Regions from separate parts of the Homo sapiens genome. Here region 1 is linked to region 2. Evidence: promoter capture Hi-C in 16 types of primary human blood cells and fetal thymus (Javierre and others, 2016). All regions are on one chromosome and are shown on one strand. Each heading gives the region's core, a stretch centred on a gene start or on the middle of the fragment in contact. The rest is flanking DNA. Distances are from core to core; before and after follow the strand shown.

Region 1 (5,626 bases), core at 2,289-4,788, 550 kb before region 2:
GTTTATCAAATTCCATTTATTCACTCATAATTGCACTATTTTCATGGAAAGTCTTAGTCTCCTAAAACATTGAGAGGATATACCATGGAACTAGATGGCAAACTTGGTTTGGTTGGTTTTTGTAATCTTTACCATTGCTAGAAAGTTAGAAAAGGGTGGCTTCACTTCAGCAGAAATTTTGAAAAATTCGTGGAACCAGAAGAAACCCAATCTAAAAGAAATACAAGAGAACATTTTCGCAGAGTTTTAAGTGCAATTTCAAAGAAAATTCAAACTTAGAATCAAATTCAAAGAGGAGGCAGCACCCCAAAGCAACATTTTTTGTTTTATTGAGGTATAATTTACATACAACAAAGCTCACCATTTTAAGTGTACCACTAGATGAGTTGTTGACAAATGTAGACAGCCATGAAACCACCATGAAACCAGAATCATAGAACATTTCCATCATTTCAGAAAATTCCATTATGCCCTTTTACAGTCAATCTCTTCCATTCACCCCTGACCTCTGTCAACCACTGAGTGTTTTCTGTCACTATAATTGTACATTTCTAGGGCTTTATATAAATGGAATCATATGTAGTCACTGTGTCTGATGTCTTTCGTTTAGCATAATGCTTTTGAGATCTTTTTATGGCTCAGTAATATTCCATTGTGTGGATGTGTACTACATCTTGGTTTTGTCCTTTACCAATTGATGGATGTTTAGGTTGTTACTAGTTTTAGGCTATCACAAATAAAGCTGCTATGAACATTCAAATACAAGTTTTTATTTTAAACATAGGTTTTAAATTCTCTTGGATAATTACCTATGAGTAGGATTACTGAGTTGTATGATACATGAATGCTTAACTTTCTAAGAAACTGATAACCTATTTTCCAAAGAAGCTGTACCCTTTCATACCCCTCCAGCAATGTATGAGAGTTCCAGCTGCTTCACATCCTTGCCAATACTTGGTATTGCCAGTCACTTTAATTGCAGCCATCCTGGTGCGTGTTAGTAGTACATCATTGTGGTTTTAGTGTGCATTTCCCTAATGACTAATAATGTTGAGTCTTTTCATAAGCTTATTTCAAATTCATATGTCTGCTTAGGTGGAATGTCTATTAAAAAGTCTTTTGCCCATTTTTTATATCAAGTTGCCATCTTACTGAGTTGTAATTTTTTCAGTATTCTGCATACAAGTCCTTTTAACAGATATGTTTTGCAAATATTTTTCTTCCAATCTGCAGCTTGCATTTTCATTTCTTTAATGGTTTTCATAAAAGAGAAAACATTTTTAATGTTGATAATTTAATTGGCAATGTTTTTCTTTTATGATTCATGCTTTTAGTGTCCTAAGAAAGTTTGCTTTATCCAAGTACAAAAAGATTTTCTCCTGTGTTTTCTTTAGAAGTTTTGTAATTCTAGCTCTTAAAATTTAGATCTATATTCCACTTCGAGATGATTTTTGTGTATGATATAAGGTAATGATCCAGGATTGTTCTGTTTGTTCTTATGGATATTCAATTGTTCGAGCACCAGTTGTTGGAAAGATTAGCTTACTCGTTGAATTTTCTTGGCCCCTGTTTTTTTTTGTTGTTTTTATTTTGTAGACGGAGTCTCGCTTTGTCGCCCAGCCTGGAGGGCAGTGGCGCGATCTCAGCTCACCGCAACCTCCGCCTCCCGGGTTCAAATGATTCTCCTGCCTCAGCCTCCCGAGTAGCTGGGACTACAGGCGCGTGCTACCACGCCTGGCTAATTTTTTGTATTTTTACTATTTCAAGACCTCTTCTGTTCCATTGATCTACTTGTCTGTCTTTATGTCAATTTCACATTGACTCGATTAGTGTATAGCAAGTCTTAAAACCAAGTAGTTTAAGTTCTTCAGCCTTGTTCTTTTTTAGGATTATTTTGGCTATTCAAATTTCCATATAAATTTTAGAATCAACTTGTCAATTTCTTCAAAAAAATCCTGCTAGTGATTTAGATTAGATTGCATTGAATTTGTAGTTCGATTTGGGAAGAACTGCTATTTTAACAATATTGAGTCTTCCAATCCAAGAATATGAATTTCTCTACATTTCTACATTTCTTTAGATCTTTTTTTCTCAGCAATGTTTTATAGTTCAGTGTGCAAATCTTGCATATTTTTGTTAAACTTGTCCTGTTTTATATCTTCAATGCAATTGTTTTAAGAGATACTGTTTTCTAATTTGTTTCCAATTTTTTATTACTAGCACATCAACTATAGATTTTAAATTGACCTTGTATCCTACAAACTTGCTAAGCTCAATATTAGTTCCAGTAGCTTTTTTCGTTAAGTCCAATGAAGACAGTTTTCAACAAAGATGAATAATCATGTCATCCAAGAATAAACAGGTTTACTTCCTTTTCAATCTGCCTTTTATTTCTTTTCTTATTATATTACCCTAACTAGAACCTGCAGTACTATGTTGAATAGAAGTGGTGGAAGCAGACATCCTTTCCTTGTTCCAAATCTTAAGGAGAAAGCATCAATCATTCACCATAAAGTCAGTTTGTGGCTGTTTCTATCTTCTGAAATAGATTATAGAGAATTGTTGTAATTTCTTCCTTAAATGTTTGGTGTAAAATTCACCAGTGAAACCATGGACCTGGTGCTTTTTGTTTTTGGAAGGCTATTATTTATTCAAGTTATTTAATAGATATAGGCCTATTCAGATTGTCCATTTCTTCTCGTGTGAGTTTTGGCAGATTGTGTCTTTCAAGGAATTGGTTTATTTCATCCAGGTTATCAAATTTGTGGACATAGAATTCATAGTATTCCTTTATTATCATTTTAATGTCCGTCGGATCTGTAGTAATGTTCCTTATTTCACTTTTGATATTAGTTATTTGCGTTCTCTTTTCTTGCCTGGTTAGAGGCTTATTGATTTTATCAATGTTTTCAAAGAACCAGCTTTTGTTTTCATTGATTTTTCTTTGTTGCTTTCCTGTTTTCAATTTCACAGGTTTCTGCTTTAATTTTTATTATTTCTTCTCTTCTGCTTACTTTGGATTTTCTTTTTATTTCTTTTTATTTATTTATTTTTGAGACACAGTCTCACTCTGTCGCCCAGGCTGGAGTGCAGTGGTGCGATCTCGGCTCACTGCAACCTCCGCCTCCTGGGTTGAAGCGATTCTCCTGCCTCAGCCTCCCGAGTAGCTGGGACTGCAGGCGCCCGCCACCACGCCCGGCTAATTTTTTGTATTTTTAGTAGAGACGGGGTTTCACCGTGTTAGCCAGGATGGTCTCGATCTCCTGACTCGCCATCTGCCCGCCTTGGCCTCCCAAACTGCTGGGATTACAGGCGTGAGCCGCCCAGCATCTTTTTTTTTTTTTTTTTTTTTTTGAGTCGGAGTCTTGCTCTGTCGCCCGGGCTGCAGTGCAGTGGCGCGATCTCAGTTCACTGCAAGCTCCACCTCCCGGGTTCAGGCAGTTCTGCCTCAGCCTCCCGAGTAGCCGGGACTACGGGCGCGCACCACCACGCCCTGCTAATTTTTGTTTTTAGTAGAGGCGGGATTTCGCCGTATTGGCCAGGCTGATTTCAAACGCCTGACCTCAGGTGATCCGCCCGCCTCGGCCTCCCGAAGTGCTGGGATTACAGGCTGAGGCACGGTACGGGGACCTCATCTGCATCAGTACGGGTGTAATCAATGATGACCTGCCTCTTAATTTATCAGGTGGCAAACTGAGGCTGTGGGCACTGAAAGAGACCTAGCATTTTCTAGGGCACCGCTCTCCTGGGTACGCTGGCGACAACCAGCGGCCTCGGCTTGGGAGCTGAGCCACTGGCCGGAATCTGCCGCTGAGCGAATGCACTCGCTCAGACCCGACTTCTCCCTCTAGGGCGCGGCTCCCGGGCAGGTCCCTTCACGAGTCTTCCATCCGAGCAGAGCAGGGTCCCGCGGAGGCGCCGACCGGGCGCGAGGCCTCCTGCCTGCCCAGGTTCCCCGGCGACCCTGAGCGAACCCTCTCGGGGTCAGCTCCGTCTAGGCTGAGAAGGGAACGGCGGAAGGCGGAGTGCGCCCCCGGGAGCCCGGAGCTGGGACTGCAGCTCCCATGGGGCCAAGTTCACGGGGTGCGGCCGCGCGGCCAATGAGCGCCCTCTATGCCCTGACGGTGCCCCGCCTCGCGGCGCTGCCGCGCTCCCGCCCTCCCGCCCTCCCGCCGCGCGCTCGGGATCCCGACCAGTCCTGACCGCACGGGGGCCGCGGCCACGGGGCGCAGGGGCCATGGTGCGCGGCAGGATCTCCCGGCTCTCGGTCCGGGACGTGCGCTTCCCCACGTCGCTTGGGGGCCACGGCGCGGACGCCATGGTAAGCGCGGACGCCATGGTAAGCGCGGACGCCATGGTAAGCGCGGACGCCATGGTAAGCGCGGACGCCATGGTAAGCGCGGACGCCATGGTAAGCGCGGACGCCATGGTAAGCGCGGACGCCATGGTAAGCGCGGACGCCATGGTACGCGCGGCTTGCGGCCCGGGTCCCTCCCGCCCCGCCGACTGCAGCTCTGCGGGCCCCGGGCAGCTTCCCGACTTCGAACCCATTGCTTCTGTAAAGTGGGAGGCGCGCCTGGGGGAGACACTCGCTTTTCATGCCTTGGAGCAATTGTATAAGTATCCAGAAACTTTCCACTCTCCTGGGTTTTTTCTTTGCTGGAGTTTAGAATATCCTGGTTTTACTTTTACGACTCACATTTTGCTGGAAATGGTAGAATGCATAATAGGCAATAGCAGCAAAATGATTTTGTTGGGTTCCCGCCAGTGGAAACCCTAGAGCACAGCGCTCGCTGGCTTCCTCTGTACCCTGAACGCGACGGGGTTGGCGCTGAGGGAGAACGGGAAGCCCGGGGCTGGGAGTTTTGAGTGGTGATCCCGCTTCCACAACTTGCTGTGTGACTTGGAGAAGTTCCAGACCTCTCTGGGTCTCTTGGACCCGTCTGTGTAATGAAGGTGTCACAGTCGGGTTGAGAAACCAAGCGCGTGCTAACTGCGTCACATGAGAGGGCGCTCTCGTGAAATTACCCGCAAACACGCTTAGAAAGGACTGATGCAAATGTCAGTTCGTCTTAAGAGATGTAATAAAGTAAGGGCAGGAACTCTGACTCCTACCTAAATATTGAAGGTCTTTTTTGCTTACTGAGGGTGTTAGAATGTCAGGCCTTCCCTCCCCTGCCCCCGTCTAGAGCGGTGTTTCCCAAATACAGTGGGTTCTGTGCAGGGTTTTCAGGGAGCCTGTTCCCCACTGGGTCCTCACTGCCCCTCGTAGTCCACTGATGAGATTGGCCGCGCTAGAAAAGCAGAGTTGTATGGGTATGTAGTGAATGTGTGAAAGTATGCTGGGAAGTGAGGAACGGCAATGTTAGGAAAATGGTTACCAGTAGGGAGGGAAGGAAATGGGGTCACGGAGGGGACCACGAGGTCTCTAATTCCCATTGTAATGTTTTACTTCCTAAATTGGGTGGATGGCAAGCTGGTGTCCATTACATTATCTATACTCTTTTTGTACCTGAAATGTTTTATAAAAATAGATCTCTCGTTAAAGTTATTAAATGCAAAACAATGTCCTTTTTGAGATTAAGTTCATCCTGCATTTTTAAATTTTTATTTTATTCTATTTTAT
Region 2 (5,511 bases), core at 742-3,241:
GGCACAGGTGTGTGTTTATTTTTAGAGACGGGGGTCTTGCTCTGTCACCCAGGCTGGAGTGCAGTGGCGTGATCACAGATCACAGCACCCTCTAACTCCTTGGCTCAAGTGATCCTCCCAACTCAGCTTCCCGAGTAGCTGGGATTAAAAGCATACATCATGGCCCCTGGCTTTAATTTTTAACTGCACTTATCCTTAACCATTTAATAATCTAGATATGTAATTTTCTTTTTTTCTTTTCTTGAGACCCAGTTTCGCTTTTTTCACCCAGACTGAAGTGCAATGGCGCGATCTTGGCTCACTACAACCTCCGCTTCACAGGTTCAAGCGATTCTCCTGCCTCAGCCTCCCCAGTAGCTGGGATTACCGGCACCTGCCACCACTCTCGACTGATTTTTTGTATTTTTAGTAGAGACAGGGTTTCAACATGTTGGCCAGGCGGTCTCGAACTCCTGACCTCAAGTGATCCGCCCGCCTCGAGCCTCCCAAAGAGCTGGGATTACAGGCGTGAGCCACCGCGCTCAGACTAGATACTTAATTTTCTACTAAATCTTATGAAATAGTACTTAAAATGTTCTCTTCATTTTAATATAGAGCTTTTTGCTGACCCTCAAAATACAGATTCTCAATATGGAGAGGTCAAAGGAAGGGACCTTAGAAATCTACTTGAGTTCCTTCATTTGGGGGATGAGGAAAAGATCTGATTAAATATTTAAGATAAAGCTCAAATTTTAAAAAAGAAACTCTGGTCAGCGCTGGCATTTTGAGGAAACAGAGGGGTTTTGTTTTATGTGTGTGAATCTACTGGTGTGTTTAAGTATTAGAATATTTCAAGAGCCATTCTACTGTTGTTATGGCTTTAGAAAGGGGTTGGGCAATCATTAAGAATTCGATTCAAGATTCTAGACCATCAAGAATCCACCTTGAGATCAAACAATACTCTTGATTCGTATCATGCTTTGTAAATGCTGAATCTTCAATAAAGGAACTGTAACAGAATAAACAGGGATGGTCAACGAATCACACACCTACAGCCAATTGGAGACACCACACATATTTTAGGTGCCATTTTGAATAAGGCTAGGGAGCAGCAAGGTCCATTCCCTAAGTAAAAGTGATCCCTGGCCAGTACCCTGGACTGTCAGCAAGCAAACAATACAAGCCCCTGTCAAACGCCAATCAAGAAATGACACCCCGGGGATATGTGTATTCATCTACTTCTGAAAGCTCACACCACGTTTCGGATACAGAAATCCAATGCAACGTTTGATGAAACGAAAACGAAGCAAAAAGGTTTACAATCTGCCTCGGGACAAAACTAAAACTGGTACCAAAGGGGCGGTCGAACAAAGGCAAGGGGCAAGAGAAGGGCGAAGGACGACGAAGGGCGGCGAACGCCGCTTGGCAACCCCAAGAAGGGTCGCTCCATCCCTCCCCTTCTTCCCCGCTCCCTTCCACGGCGACCACTGAGAAGCCCAAAGGAATCTCCCTGCACCTCCAGCCTGGCCCAGCGCCCCAGGACACACCCTCACTTTCACCGCACACCAGGGCAGCGTCAGAAACTATTCTGCAGAGTCACGACTTTGAGAGGCTTCCCCATCTCCACTCCCCCCACCCATCGGTGGCTCAGGGGGACGGCGCTCCCCTGCCACGCAGGGCTCCGACCCAGCCGGGAGAGGGGACGGTGCCTGGGTCATCTCCGCGCCGCCGGCCCCGCGCACCCCACCCCGGCCCCTCCCAGTCCATGCCGGGTGCCCGCCCGTGCAGGCCAGGCCTACGCGGAGGCCTAGCGCCGGTCCGGTGTGCTGCGCGCGAGGCCAGGACAGGGCTCACCGGAGTAGAGCGGCATGGCGGGGCGCGGCGGGAGGCGGCGGCGCAGGAGAGCTGGGCCTGACGAGGGCGGCAAAGGGACGGGGACCAGGAGCAGCTGCGGCGGCGGCCGAGGCGGAGGCGCGGTGGTGGCGGCGGCTTCGGTGCGACGAGTCTCATTCAAACCGGCCACTGGCGATGACGCAGCAACACGCAAAACACCCGTGCAGCTCCGGAGCGACTGCAGCGAGGAGACTGGGCGGCAGGACCGGGGCGGGGCCTAGAGGTGGCGAGAGGAGGGAGGAGGGGGAAGGCGGTGGAGGGGTGGCGGGAAGGAAGGAGGGAGCAAGTGAGGGACGGGCGCGGGGCCCCATCCACCGCAGCAGGTGCGCGCCTGCGCACTGCCGCCCATCGCCCTGCGCGCACTGGCCACGTGGTCCTGGCGCGGCCCAGCCCTGCGGCAGATGAAGTGGGAACTTGGTATCCCACCTGCTGTCTGAGGCTGAGGCGGGAGAATCGCTTGAGCCCAGGAGGTCGAGGCTGCAGTGAGCTGTGATCGTGCCACCGCACTCCAGCCTGGGCGACAGAGCGAGACCCTGCCTCAAAATAAAATAAATAAAATTAGTGGTTGTAAAGTCAGAGGTGTTTTGAAACCCAGCTGTTACTAGCTAGCTGTATGATGTCTGCAAACCTCAGTTTTCTTTTCACCCACACCTCATTTTATTGCGTTCTATATATATATATTTATATATTTTTATATATTTATATATTTTTATATATTTATATATATTTATATATTTATATATATTTATATATATATATATATAAATTGAAGGTTTGTGGCAACCCTGGGTTAGTAAGTCCATCAGTTCTGTTTTTCTAACAGCATGTGCTCACTTCGTGTCTCTGTGTCACATTTTGGTAATTCTCACAATATTTTGAACTTTTTAAATACTATTATATCTGTTCCAGTGATCTATGATTACTATTTTAGTTGTTTTGGGGTGCCACTAACCACCCCCGTGTAAAACAGCTAACTCCAATGTTTTGTGTATTCTGACTGCTCTGGCAACAAGTCTTTTCCCACAAGGGTTCAAGGCTTGAGTTCAGGACACAACTGCAGGTGTGGTGGCAATAGCAAGAGAACTAGAATTAGAAGTGGAGCCCACAGATGTGACTGAATTGCTGCAATCTCAAGACAAAGCTTTAATGGGCAAGGAGTCGCTTCTTATGGATAAGCAAAGAAAGTGGTTTCTTGAGATGGAAACTACTCCTGGTGAAGACGCTGTGAACACTGTTGAATGACAACAAAGGATTTAGAATATCATAAACTATGGAACTGTTGATAAAACAGCAGCAGAATTTGACAGGATTGACTCTAATTTTGAAAGAAATTCAAATTTGAAAGTTCTTCTGTGGGTAAAATGCTGAACAGCACTGCATGTCACAGGGAAAACTTTCATGAAAGGAAGAGTCAATCGACGTGGCAGATTTCATTATTGTCTTATTTTAAGAAATTGCCACAGCTACCCCAAACTTTAGCATCCACCGCTCTGATCAGTCAGCAGCCATCAACATTAAGGCAAGCCCTCTGCCAGCAAAAAGATGATGATTCACTGATAGCTCAGATGATCCTTAGCATTTTTTAGCAGTAAAGTTTTGTTTGTTTGTTTTGAGACAGGGTCTCACTCTGTCACCCAGGCTGGAGTGCAGTGACGCAATTACGGCTCACTGCAGCCTCAACCTCCCAGCTCAAGCTATCCTCTCACCTCAGCCTCCTGAGTAACTGGGACCACACACGGCTAATTTTTTTTGTATGTTTTGTAAAGACGGGATTTCGCCATGTTGCCCTGGCTGGTGTTGAACTCCTGGTCTCAAGCAATCTGCCCACCTAGGCCTCCCAAAGTGCTGGGATTACAGGCATAAGCCACTGCACCCAGCCTTGACACTAAATAGACTACAGTATAGTAGAAACATAACTTTTATATGCACTGGGAAAACAAAAACTTTGTGTGACTCATTTTATTACAATATCAGCAATATTGCAGTGGTCTGGAACTAAACTAGCAATGTGTTCAAGCTGTGCATGTAAAATGGAGATACATCTCAGGATTGTTATAAGGACTAAATAAGATTATGTATAGAAGATTCTTAGCACAGTGCATTGCACATGTGCTATGATACCTATTTTATATTACACAGTAAAACTTCAAAGGGATTTTGCAGGGTATGTTAGAATAGCAGGCTATGGATAGCTTTATTTTCTATTTTTTTTATGTTCAGTAACATATTTCTATAACATACATATTTAAAAATGTATTGCATAGATTGCCCGGGCACCATGGCTTACGTCTGTCATCCCAGCACTTTGGGAGGCCAAGGCAGGTGGATCACTTGAGCTCAGGAGTTCCAGACTAGCCTGGGCAATGAAGTGAGACCCCCATCTCTACAAAAAATTTAAAACTTAGCTAGGTGTGGTGGTGCACTCCTGCAGTCCCAGCTACTCGGGAGGCTGAGATGGGAGGGTAGCTTGAACCTGGGAGGCAGAGGTTCCAGTAGCCAAGATTGCACCACTACACTCCAGCCTGGGTGACAAAGCAAGACTCTGTCTCAAAAAAACAAAACAAAACCAAATAAAAATGTATAGATCATCTGTGGAAAAATCTGTGCTGCCCTTTGTTGAAGCTGATAGTAAAGGAGGCCTAAAGATTGAGAGATTCAGAGGCAAAAATCATCATCCTGTCTGCTACACTCACATTGCAACCTGCGCTTTTTTGTTGTTGTTGTTTCTTTTTCTTTTTGAGAGAGAGCCTTGCTCTGTCGCCCATGCTGGAGTGTAGTGATGCAATCTTGGCTCACTGCAACCTCCGCCTCCCAGGCTCAAGTGATCGTCATGCCTCAGTCTCCTGAGGAGCAGGGATTACAGGTGTGTACCACCACGCCTGACTAATTTTTGTGTTTTCAGTAGAGATGGGGTTTCTGCTGTGTTGACCAGGCTGGTCTCAAACTCCTGGCCTCAAGCTATCTGCCCACGGCCTCCCAAACTTCTGGGATTATAGGCGTGAGCCACCATGCCCGGCCAGCTTTTTCTTTAGTAACTCTCATCACACTTCTATTTTTTTAATGTCTGTATTCCCCCAAGTACACTATAAACAGGAATCGTGGCTATCTCGTAGGCACTCAGGAATTACTTGATGCTGTGAGAACTGGATGTGAAAGTTACCTATTTGAAGTTTATTCATCATGTAGATGACCAGGGAATCTTGTAGACCAAGTTTTGGTCCCTTTGGTACAACTAGCTTCTTCCAGCCTCTCTGAAGATCCGCAGACCTAAATTTAAGACAAATGGGGGCAGAGTGAGGAGGTGGAACCATGCTAGCAACTGAAAGGAAGCATAAAAAGAAATTTGCACAACTGGCCTTCCTAAACGTCAGAGTTAAAGATGACAGCGACCTCATCGCCATGACACACATTGCTAAGCCCTGCCCTCCATGTGTTTAATGGATGGGATTTTCTTCTTAAGGGTGACTTCTTTAATGAATAAATTGGTAAGATCTTAACCTGCATGTTTATACATAAATAAGTTCTATAAAACATAGCCAAATATCAGAAATGTTTTCACTTGGTGAATTACCTACAATTTATTGCTTAGAATGTACCCTCCTTCCTCATCTGGCCATGGGAAATCCTGTCCAACTTTAA

Evidence for each region. The method cuts DNA at HindIII sites, captures the fragments that hold promoters and counts their contacts. A CHiCAGO score of 5 or more calls a contact.
Region 1: a fragment that was not itself captured here is called in contact with the fragment with the promoter of USP14 in region 2 in 1 of 17 cell types (monocytes); the score reaches 5.6 in monocytes.

What each region holds. Positions count from the first base shown.
Region 1 is chr18:711,199-716,824 of GRCh38, reverse strand. ENOSF1 (enolase superfamily member 1) reads left to right here and starts at 4,195. Exons shown (of 16, transcript NM_017512.7): 1 at 4,195-4,321. The coding sequence starts at 4,238. RefSeq lists silencers at 902-1,196, 3,951-4,270 and an enhancer at 3,420-3,999. The HindIII fragment of the contact is 4,938 bases long and covers 1,070-5,626 here.
Region 2 is chr18:155,037-160,547 of GRCh38, reverse strand. It overlaps USP14 (ubiquitin specific peptidase 14), which reads right to left and starts at 1,991. Exons shown (of 16, transcript NM_005151.4): 1 at 1,834-1,991. The coding sequence starts at 1,849. It overlaps LOC105371951 (a long non-coding RNA gene), which reads right to left. Exons shown (of 4, transcript XR_935081.2): 3 at 5,033-5,139; 4 at 2,379-2,405. RefSeq lists silencers at 1,600-1,779, 2,050-2,319. The HindIII fragment of the contact is 8,571 bases long and covers 1-3,015 here.